4 separate regions of the Homo sapiens genome follow, and regions 1, 2 and 4 are each linked to region 3. The links are contacts of gene promoters, found by promoter capture Hi-C in blood cells and fetal thymus (Javierre and others, 2016). All regions are on one chromosome and are shown on one strand. The core of a region is centred on a gene start or on the middle of the fragment in contact, and the rest is flanking DNA. Distances in the headings are between cores, read along the strand shown.

Region 1 (2,700 bases), core at 102-2,601, 560 kb after region 3:
TCACTTGGCAGCAGGAGACAGAGAGAGACCAAAGGGGGAAGAGCCCTTTATAAAACTATCAGATCTTGTGAGAACTCACTCACTATCCTAAGAACAGCATGGGGGACACCACCCCCATGATCCAATCTCCTCCCACTAGGTCCCTCCCTTGACACATGGGAATTATGGGAATTACAATTCGAGATGAGATTTGGGTGGGGACACAGAGCCAAACCACTGCTACGTACTACTCTGGTTTAGCCCTGAAAATACCTACTGCTACTAGCACTGGTTCAAGGTAGTATTTCAAATCCACTGGCTCCAACACAATATCTGGAGCCATAAGGGGAAGAAAGGCCTCCAACATCCCCTCCAGCTTTTCTACAAGAAGGAACCCAATTTTTCTGTCCTTACAGTCTTCCCATGTTTGTAGGCATCCCTATACAGGCTTCTGCCACCTCCCATTGGTACAAGTCAATATTGGTGCAAGTCAATATTGGCACAATCCCGTATTTGCACCATAGAGACTATAATCTCTCATGATCAATTCCACCTTTATCCTGTTTCACCCATTATCCAGCCCTGGAAATGATCTAAATTTTTTGGAACTCTGGTCTTGCTACTCATTTTTTTTTAATTTTGCACACATTTAAACACACAGTCCTACCTGAAAGAGTCTTAAATCATTTTATAGCATCTCAATAACACCTGTAAATCATGTATTCCTTTGTTGTGGGCTATATTTTAGACACAATTAAGCTAAATCGTAGCAGTTAGAGTGAAACAAGAACACAAAGGGGTTATCTGTTCACCAAGTGACTTCACAGTCTTTTTCTTTCCTTAGGAAATCAATTCTTTACAGTGTCAGCTTGGGGAGAGACTTGACATTGAAGTGACTGCTGCCCCTTCTGCTGACCTAAACCAGGTTCTACAAGAAATGAGATGTCAATATGAGCCCATCATGGAGACAAACCGCAAAGATGTGGAACAGTGGTTCAACACGCAGGTGGGGGATATAGAAAAGTCAAAAACAATAAGCTGATGCTGCATTTCTAGGGCCCTTTAATCAAAGTCATGTTTTCCTCCCATAATATTCTCAGTCTCTGGCTGTGTGTTTCAGATAGAGGAGCTGAATCAACAAGTGGTGACCAGCTCTCAACAGCAGCAATGCTGCCAAAAGGAGATCATAGAACTGAGACGCAGTGTGAACACTCTGGAGGTTGAACTGCAGGCCCAGCATCGAATGGTACTGAGCAAGCTGACCAAGCCTAGCTCAGCAAAGATGGAAACAGTCCCTTACACCTGTGTGCTGCAGTATTTCCCAAACTGTGTCTTTCAGAACAATAGTTCCTCATTTGTTAAAGCGTCTATGGCTGAAAAAGAGCTTTGTGGCCAAATAAGTCTACGAAACGCTGCACTAAACCAAGGTTAAACAGGGTGCCTTCCTGTGAGCCATTAATAAGCTAATATACACCATGAATCTCCAGGAAGGGGGTATATGGTATTCAGCATTCCAAAACTTATTTGACTGTGGATCCCCCCACTTTTTTTAGAACATCTCATGGTATTAATGATTCATGAAGTACACTTTGGGAAACACTGGGAGAGCATTTTATTATATGCAAAGCATTTTTACAAGCTATCACATGAGATTTATAAAGCAATCCTAAGAGGGGGGGTGGCATAATTATTAACGAATGTTACAGATGAGGCTCCAAGAGCTAAAGTGATTTTCCCAAGCAAATCCAAGGTAAGTTTCAGCCCACCTATTTTATAGAGACACTGAGATCCTGAGACATTAAGAAACTCATCCAAAGTCACAAAAGAAATAAGAGTCTGAGCCAGAGTTTAGATTCCAAAGCCAGTATCATTCTGTCTCATGATAATGCCTCTCTGAAGTAGAGAATTGCTTACATGCTCTGATGTGAAGGCTTTTGGGAAGACCTTGCCCCACACTGGTTTTGTCACCAGCTAGTCATGTGACCTTGGACAACATATTGAACCACTTGAACCTCAGTTTTCTCATCTATAAAAATTGGGATAATCATGCAAATAATAGGCTATTAAAACCTAAAATCCCATCATTATCCATAGACTTACAGAATGATAGAGCAGGAATGAAATTTACTCATCAGTTTCAACTTTCATATTTTACATATAAAGGAATTGATCTGGTGGATAAATTGTATATGGTAAAACATTGCTTCCTTCCTTTTTTAAGACACGAACACTCACTGAATGAAGTGCCATGGTAATGCTTTTTTTTTTTTTTCTTTTTGAGATGGAGTCTCACTCTGTCGCCCAGACTGGACAGCAGTGGCACGATCTCGGGTCACTGCAACCTCCACCTCCCGGGTTCAAGCAATTCTCTGCCTTAGCCTCCCAAGTAGCTGGGATTACAGGTGCCCACCAGAACACCCAGCTAATTTTTTGTATTTTTAGTAGAGACGGGGTTTCACCATCTTGGCCAGGCTGGTCTTGAACTCCTGACCTTGTGATCCACCCACCTGGGCCTCCCAAAGTGCTGGGATTATAGGCGTGAGCCACTGCGCCCAGCCAGTAATGCATTTTTAATGCCTGGGTGTGCATTAAGTTATTATTTTTTCTCTCCTAAGTAGGAAAGTGTGGTGCGAGACTATTGGTTGGTCAAGAAAGAGAAAGTGAAACAAATACTTACAGAGAAGCAAAAAGAGAAAGAGAGAAAGAGGGAAGAGATAAAGG
Region 2 (2,700 bases), core at 160-2,659, 540 kb after region 3:
CACTGACCATTTTTATGGTGGTGGCACAAACAAATAATTGTCATTTTGTGAGCTGTAATACTAATTTTAAAAGGGGACACAAGCAATCAATCCACAGAATCAAAATCTGTGGACATATTATTTTCCTGATTTGTAATGAGTTGTATCTATAATTATTCATTGGCCAAATTTTCTCTTTCTTTTATTATTCTGTCAAAAGCACAATGCTTCCTATGACGATTTTCTGAAATAAGTGTTTTGTCTTGCACATGGAAATGGTGTGGGTCCTGCTTTGGTAACCTAAAGTTATCCCTATTTTATGAGGCATAAAACTCTTCCTCAGTAAATAAACAACTCTAATGAGATGTTTGTACGAAAACTGGCACCATCAGTGATAAAGAAAACATCCGGTGCAGTCTGTAAACACCCATTTTGGGGGGTTATAAAACTCTCAGGAGAGGAGAGTTTTGGAGTCAAGGCAACTGAAGTTTTGCAGCCAGTCTCTGTCTTTGCTTCTGGAAGGATGACTTCTGACTGCTCCTCCACACACTGCTCTCCTGAGTCCTGTGGCACGGCTTCCGGTTGTGCACCTGCCTCAAGCTGCTCCGTGGAAACAGCTTGTCTCCCCGGTACCTGTGCTACATCCCGATGTCAGACTCCAAGCTTCCTATCCAGGTCTCGCGGGCTGACTGGTTGCCTCCTGCCATGCTACTTTACTGGGAGTTGTAATAGTCCCTGCTTGGTGGGGAACTGTGCCTGGTGTGAGGATGGGGTGTTCACTAGCAATGAGAAGGAGACGATGCAGTTCCTGAATGACAGACTCGCCAGCTATCTGGAGAAGGTGCGCAGCCTGGAGGAGACCAACGCAGAGCTGGAATCCAGGATCCAAGAACAATGTGAACAGGATATCCCAATGGTGTGCCCGGATTATCAGCGTTACTTCAACACCATTGAAGATCTCCAACAAAAGGTCTGTGTCCTGTTGCCCTAGTGCTCCACCTTCCTGATCTATGGTTTGCTTTATCTTTCTACTAGAAGGGGCTGTTTTACAGAAGGAAACCAAGGGAAAGGAAAATTCTAAGAGTTAGTGATACATAGGGGAGAGCACCGGACTGAAAGTCAGAAAACCTCAGCATCAGCCCCAGAGCTACCCCTGATTACTGAGTGACTATAATAAAGTAACTTGCCTGTAGACTTTTCCTTCATCATCTATAGAATGCAGAAAAACTGTATTATATCCAAAATCGCTTTTGTACGTGACACTGAACATTTACATTATCTGAACACAGATCATGAAATGCCATCTTTTTAACTACCTAGTAATCATTTTCTTCTCTCCATGAATTTCTATTATTATGGGAGAGGATATACTCATAATACAAACTACTGATGGAGAAAACATTAATGGTGTTCAACTGCCTGAGAATGTTGCAAAATGTCTTATGTTATTAAAAAACTAAACCTTTTTATTTCATTATTTTGTTTCTAAATTGGCTCTGCTTTTTTTCTTCATGAAGTGACAAGGTTAATAAAAAAAAGCAGGCTGAGGGTGATTTTATACTTTCTTATAAAGACTTTCAAAAGATAGCTAATGGCATAGCTGTTGGATAGAAGTTTACTTAGGTTTCTCTCAAAGAATCATTTATCACATAATGACTTGCTTCCCAGATCTTATGCACGAAAGCAGAGAATTCTAGACTTGCTGTACAGCTTGACAACTGCAAACTGGCCACTGATGACTTTAAGTCAAAGTAAGTTTAATTTAATTTTATTTTATTTATTTATTTTGAGATGGAGTTTCACTCTTGTCACCCAGGCTAGAGCTCAATGGTGCTATCTCAGCTCACTGCAACCTCTGCCTCCTGGGTTCAAGTGGTTCTCCTGCCTCAGCCTCCTGAGTAGCCGGGATTACAGGCAGGCGTGCACCGCCACACCTAGCTAATTTTTGTATTTTTAGTAGAGACAGGGTTTCACCATGTGGGCCAGGTTGGTCTCGAACTCCTGACCTCAGGTGATCTGCCCGCCTTGGCCTCCCAAAGTGCTGGGATTACAGGCATGAGCCACCACGCCCGGCTTTAATTTTAATTTGAAAATAACTTATGGCTCTCTCTCTCTCAATCTCTCTCTCTCACACACACACACACACACAAATATTCTCTATATAATATTTTAAAGTTAAGAATGTTTTAAAAGCTTGAATTTATCATTACTTAGGAATTAAGAGAAATTATGCACATGGCTTCCTGAAGTCCGTGTGTCGATCCTCCATGTATCCCCACACTTTGCACAGCGTTCAGCAAAGTAAGCGTTGGATTTCTCTTTTGCTGTGAAAGGTACGAGAGTGAACTGTCCCTTCGCCAGCTGTTAGAGGCTGACATCAGCAGCCTGCATGGGATCCTGGAGGAACTGACCCTGTGCAAATCTGATCTGGAGGCCCATGTGGAGTCTCTGAAGGAAGATCTCCTTTGCCTTAAGAAAAACCATGAAGAGGTAAGGAAAGTGGCAACTCCGCTGAAGGACTCCGAGAGTAACGTACTTACATTGACAGATGATCTGTTGATGTTTGTAAATCGAATTTGGGCAGATGTTGTTTAAGCTGGAATAAAACTACTTGAGGCAGGGCCAGGCATGGTGGCTCACACCTGTAATCCAAGCACTTTGGGAGGCTGAGGCAGGAGGATCACAAGGTCAGGAGTTCGAGACCAGCCTGACCAATATGAT
Region 3 (2,700 bases), core at 104-2,603:
AATTGGTAGGGTCAGGATTTGAACCCAGGCCTCACAGTCTTACCATGATAATTGATAAAGCCAGGATTCAAACCCGGGCCTGAGGGACTCCAGAGCCCTGTCCACTTCACCATGCTGCAACCTGGGCTAGGAATCCTCCTCCTGAGTTTCTGTAAGCCCTGGGGCCAGGTCCAGAGGGCTGAGCCACACCTCCAAGTGGCACTGCCCACAGGTATCAGGTGTCCCTGGAAAGGTGTCCCTGAGCTGGTGGCAGAGAAAAGGGCTCTCCTGAGTGTTCAACTCCCCGTCTGTGTGAAGCAATGCCTTGGTCTTCAAGATCTCCGGTGTCTTCCAGCCTGCCTGCCAGTCTCCCTTCTCTTCCCTTCCACAGCATTCAGGCACATAGAGCCTTCTGCAGCGGCCCGTCCCCAGCCAGCACTTGACAGGACAGATGGGGGCTAATCTGGCCCTGCTAAGCAGCGACATGCCTCTCCTGGAGAAGGCAGGGGCTTCCTGGAACTTGCCCCAGCCTTATCAGCGGAGGTTTGCCCCAACACATCCCAGAAACGAGCAAAGGTTCAGCGCCGTGCAGTTGGCAGGTGTCGGGATCATCAGTCATCCCCTTGTCAGTCCCAAGCCTGCTGGGCTTTTGTGAGGGTGCCAGGAACACAGGCTGGAGGATGGCAGGAGGGGAGTAGAGGTGGGAGGAGGGGAGTCCATCTGCAGCACCAGGTAAGGGGATGGATGCTGGCTCCTCTGGTCACCTCAGCTGGAACACTACTCAAGGTCCCTGGCTCCTGTCCTCCACCTGCCCCCAGGGGCCCTGCATTCCCATCCCCAGGGCCTCCACTCTCCCTGAGCCCTGCAGTCTCTCACTCACTCACTCACTCACTCATTCACTCACTCACTCACTCACAGGGTTTTGAGTTGGATAACACAGCATAATGATCGGCCAGTGGACTCCCAAACTAAGAACACGGAGCTGTCCTCTTGGGGAGAGGCTCAGGGCTCGGGGAAGTGAAGTCCAGCTGAGGGCACAGTTGGCCTGAGCTGCTCTCAGTACAGGCAGAGGCCTTGGTAGCTGTGCTGTGATGAGAGTTCGCTCCCTGCTGCTCTCTTCTGGCATGGAGAGATGAACCTGTAATCCAAGTGTTAAAACCGTGCCCTGGGGAAAAACACTATTAATTCTGAATCATCTCTTTTGTTGCATTAAAAAAAAATAGAAGAGAAAAACTTCACATGACCCACTCAAGGTGTGCAGGCAGCTGTGTTTGTCAGGAAGGCAGAAGGAGTTGGCTTTGCTTTAGGGGAGGAGACGAGGTCCCACAACACCCTCTGAAGGGTATATAAGGAGCCCCAGCGTGCAGCCTGGCCTGGTACCTCCTGCCAGCATCTCTTGGGTTTGCTGAGAACTCACGGGCTCCAGCTACCTGGCCATGACCACCACATTTCTGCAAACTTCTTCCTCCACCTTTGGGGGTGGCTCAACCCGAGGGGGTTCCCTCCTGGCTGGGGGAGGTGGCTTTGGTGGGGGGAGTCTCTCTGGGGGAGGTGGAAGCCGAAGTATCTCAGCTTCTTCTGCTAGGTTTGTCTCTTCAGGGTCAGGAGGAGGATATGGGGGTGGCATGAGGGTCTGTGGCTTTGGTGGAGGGGCTGGTAGTGTTTTCGGTGGAGGCTTTGGAGGGGGCGTTGGTGGGGGTTTTGGTGGTGGCTTTGGTGGTGGCGATGGTGGTCTCCTCTCTGGCAATGAGAAAATTACCATGCAGAACCTCAATGACCGCCTGGCCTCCTACCTGGACAAGGTACGTGCCCTGGAGGAGGCCAATGCTGACCTGGAGGTGAAGATCCATGACTGGTACCAGAAGCAGACCCCAACCAGCCCAGAATGCGACTACAGCCAATACTTCAAGACCATTGAAGAGCTCCGGGACAAGGTGAGTCCTCGGATGTCAAAGAGAGGGGAGCAGGTGGCTGGTACCCTGTACACAGCTCTAATGTCAGTGTTACTGCTGACTCAAGGAAATCCTTTCCTGCCCAGGCAATGACTGTCTGGTATGTAATCTCAGCAAATTTGGAATGCACCTGCTGTCCAGGTGCAGAGGCCAGTGCACATCTTCTCAACTTGGTGGTGCTGGGGGAGGGAGAGAGGGGTCTTGGGAATCTGGTTAGGACCAACAGGGGCACAGGTGGGGGCAATTATAAAGAGCCAGAGGCAGTAGCTCACACCTGTAATCCCAGTGCTTTGGGGGGCCAAGGTGATAGGATTGCTCGTGTCCAGGATTTAGAGGCTGCAGTGAGCTATGACTGTGCCACTGCACTCCGGCCTAGGTGACAGAGTGGAACCTGTATCTAATTAAATAAAAATAATTAAAAAAAAAGAGCAACTCGCCCTCCCTACCTCATGCACCCTGCAGGCTTCTGCATAAAGTATTCCTTTACCTCTTTTGCAAGAATGGGATTGGAGTGTGGCCTCATGAGTTCCAGATGCTAGAACCTCTTGTCTTTTCCTATAAAGAGGTCTTTTGTGCCAAAAGTACTGTTGGGTCTTAGGAGACCTGGGAACTCATTACACATTCTGCCACCCACTCACTCACCATTTTACTCCCTAAGACTGGGTTCCTCATTCGTAAAATGCCTTCTTAACTGCCCTCCAGGTTGCTACTGGCTGGAATGTTCTGTAGATCCATGGCTGTGTCCAAGGTGTGCAGGAGGCAGTGACCA
Region 4 (2,700 bases), core at 63-2,562, 510 kb after region 3:
TTATTGTGAGGACCAGATGCCCTGAAGTGTAGAAACCACCGTGTCCACAGCATCAACCTGTTACACATGAGAGACTCTCACCATTACTGCCATATGGAAGTTCCCAACTTTCTCACCAAAAGACATCTTTTAAAAATATTTATTTATTTATTTATTTATTTATTTCCGTAGCTTTTGGGTTACAGGTGGTTTTTGGTTACATGGATGAATTATATAGTGGTGGTGAATTCTGAGATTTTAGTGCACCCGTACCCAAGGAGTATACATGGTAGCTAATGTGTAGTGTTTTATCCCTGGCCTCCCTCCCACCCTCCACTTTTTGAGTCTCTAAAGTCCATTATATCACTCCATATGCATCTGCATACTTAGTTTAGCTCCCACTTATAAGTGAAAACATGGTTTTTTGTTTTCCATTCCTGTAATTTCCCACTCCATTTCACTCAGAATAATGGCCTCCAGCTCCATCCAAGTTGCCACAAAAGACATTGTTTCATTCCCTTTAACAGCTGAGTAGTATTCCATGGTGTATACATACCACAGTTTCTCTATCCACTCATTGGATGATGGATACGTAGGTTGGGCATCTTTTTATTTCTTGAAATATGTATTTTTCCCAAATGGCTTTCTTAAAAATGTTTATTAATTCCTTCATTTGTGTTCATAAATACATTTATAAATATCAATTAAATGTTTAGGATTACTATAGAATAACCTTTGTTACCATGCCAAGTTACCTTTTTTCTAGTCAAAAACAAAGAATTTTCATGTTTTCATACATGCTAGTAAGGGATAAAAATTAGAGTTTGTTTTTAATACCTAAAATAACTCGAAGTTCCTATTACTACTACCATGGTCTTTAGCATTCACGGGCCCTGGCCTAGTTATAAATCCCCAACTGGAAACCAGAAGATGTGTTGTTTTAGTCCTGGCTCTGCCTTGAGCTGCCTCTGTGGCCCTAAGCAAGTCAATTAAGTTCTTGGGGTCTCAGGTGTTAAAGCAGTAAAATGGGTTGGTTGATCACACCATCTCTAAGGTTGCTTTTCGTTTTAACATTCTATGATTCTAGATCATCCAGAAGCATTCTAAGTAACAAGTACCCCATGCAACTAACCAAGCCCATTCTACCTCATTACTTTTACTGCTTTCATTAGGAATAGCTCACACTGAGTGAGTATCTACTGGACATACTAATGAGGTAGAAGGTGGGACTCTACTCCAGAAGCGGGGCTCAGATACTGGACCAAATTGAGGGCTAGCTAAAACAGGATGGGGACAGAAACAGCTTTCCAATCAGACATGCCCACCAGCATGCTGTGTCAATTTACCATTGCCATGGCAACACCTGAGTTACCACCCCTTTCCATGGCAATGACCCAATGACCTAAAACTTACTACTCCTTCTTAGAAATTTCTGCACAAACCACTCTTTAATCTACATCTAATTAAAAGTAGGTAGAAATATGCAAAACTGCCCTGAGCTGCTACTCTCTGCCTACAGAGGTAGCCCTGTTCTGCAGGAGCAATCACAGAGCTGTAACACTGCTGCTTCAATAAAGCTGTTTTCTACCTCTGGCTTGCCCTTGAATTCTTCCCTAGGCAAAGCCAAGAACCCTTGCAGGCTAAGCCCCACTTTGGGGCTCCCCTGCCCTGCATCACTAACAGGTGAAGAAAGGCCACTAACAGGTGCAGAAACTCAGGCTGAGAAAGACTAAATTACTTGCAAAAGTTACATAAATCATAAGTGAGAGAGAAGGACTTAAACCCCAAACTAAGTCCGAAGTCCCTTCTCTTTCCACTACACCAAAGCACTCACCTTCCCCACAGACAGCAATATGTCAAAGAGAAATGTGACTATAGGTGGCTCTCTTTATTCAGGAGAAAGTATATGACACTTGACAATATATTCTCTACTATCCCTGTCAATTGTATCTTTTGTTGTTTTCTCTGTTTTCTCTGTGGTGATTATAGTCTAAAATAAAATGAGTGTATACAATGAGTATTAAAAAAGGTATCCGTGTTTCTAAGTTAAGAACAAACCTTTTTTAAAAAGTCAGACTTTACTGATTAGCAGTGTCAGCAGAGAAGAAATATTGGCTGCATCATTAACTTTGAATTGAAATGCAGAATGTTTGGCAACTCAAACACATTTTCAGTTCAACTTCAGCATCAATAATCAAGGTAAAACAACTGCCCTTAACATTAATAATTGTTTATCCTTGATAATATAATAAAAAACAAGATATTTCATTTTTCCTTCAAATTGTTATTGAGGCCAGGCACAGCGACTCGTGCCTGTAATCCCAGCACTTTGGGAGGCTGAGGTGGGTCTACTGTGAGTCCATTAAACTTCTTTCCTTTATAAATTACCCAATCTCGGGTATGTCCCTATAGCAGCATGAGAACAGACTAATACAGTATGGATGTGTCTACATGTGAGTAAGTGGAAAACTACACTGACACCATTTTGAAACTACAACAGAAAGCAAGTTTGAATGCAGCAACACAACTAAATAAAACTGAAGGAGAGCTCATCCCCTGTCTGATACATAAGAAGTTAGTGAGTTATTTTTACAGAATTAGGTAAACAGCAACAAGGATGTTCCGTCCAACATTCTGATGGACAGAAGCCGTGTTCCCTGAGATAGGTGGATATAAAAGACCCATAGAGGACAACCTTGTAGAAGAAAGCCTTCCTTTGCC

The links. The method cuts DNA at HindIII sites, captures the fragments that hold promoters and counts their contacts. A CHiCAGO score of 5 or more calls a contact.
Region 1: a contact is called between a fragment that was not itself captured here and the fragment with the promoter of KRT15 in region 3, in 3 of 17 cell types (naive CD4 T cells, total CD8 T cells and naive CD8 T cells). The highest score is 7.3, in naive CD4 T cells.
Region 2: a contact is called between a fragment that was not itself captured here and the fragment with the promoter of KRT15 in region 3, in 2 of 17 cell types (naive CD4 T cells and non-activated CD4 T cells). The highest score is 5.1, in naive CD4 T cells.
Region 4: a fragment that was not itself captured here is called in contact with the fragment with the promoter of KRT15 in region 3 in 2 of 17 cell types (naive CD4 T cells and total CD4 T cells); the score reaches 5.4 in naive CD4 T cells.

What each region holds. Positions count from the first base shown.
Region 1 is chr17:40,960,687-40,963,386 of GRCh38, reverse strand. KRT39 (keratin 39) reads left to right here. Exons shown (of 7, transcript NM_213656.4): 4 at 824-985; 5 at 1,100-1,225. All of the region lies in intron 1 of LOC107985072 (a long non-coding RNA gene), which reads right to left. Among named protein-coding and RNA genes, the nearest start is that of KRT39, 4.9 kb to the left of the region's middle. The HindIII fragment of the contact is 5,264 bases long and covers 1-2,700 here.
Region 2 is chr17:40,982,076-40,984,775 of GRCh38, reverse strand. KRT40 (keratin 40) reads left to right here and starts at 450. Exons shown (of 7, transcript NM_001389244.1): 1 at 450-949; 2 at 1,648-1,730; 3 at 2,313-2,469. The coding sequence starts at 503. It overlaps LOC107985072 (a long non-coding RNA gene), which reads right to left. Exons shown (of 4, transcript XR_001752886.2): 4 at 919-2,448. The HindIII fragment of the contact is 1,530 bases long and covers 645-2,174 here.
Region 3 is chr17:41,517,543-41,520,242 of GRCh38, reverse strand. It overlaps KRT15 (keratin 15), which reads left to right and starts at 1,353. Exons shown (of 8, transcript NM_002275.4): 1 at 1,353-1,913. The coding sequence starts at 1,416. RefSeq lists an enhancer at 14-1,013. The HindIII fragment of the contact is 23,808 bases long and covers 1-2,700 here.
Region 4 is chr17:41,004,790-41,007,489 of GRCh38, reverse strand. No RefSeq gene overlaps it. Among named protein-coding and RNA genes, the nearest start is that of KRTAP3-1, 3.0 kb to the left of the region's middle. The HindIII fragment of the contact is 4,275 bases long and covers 1-2,700 here.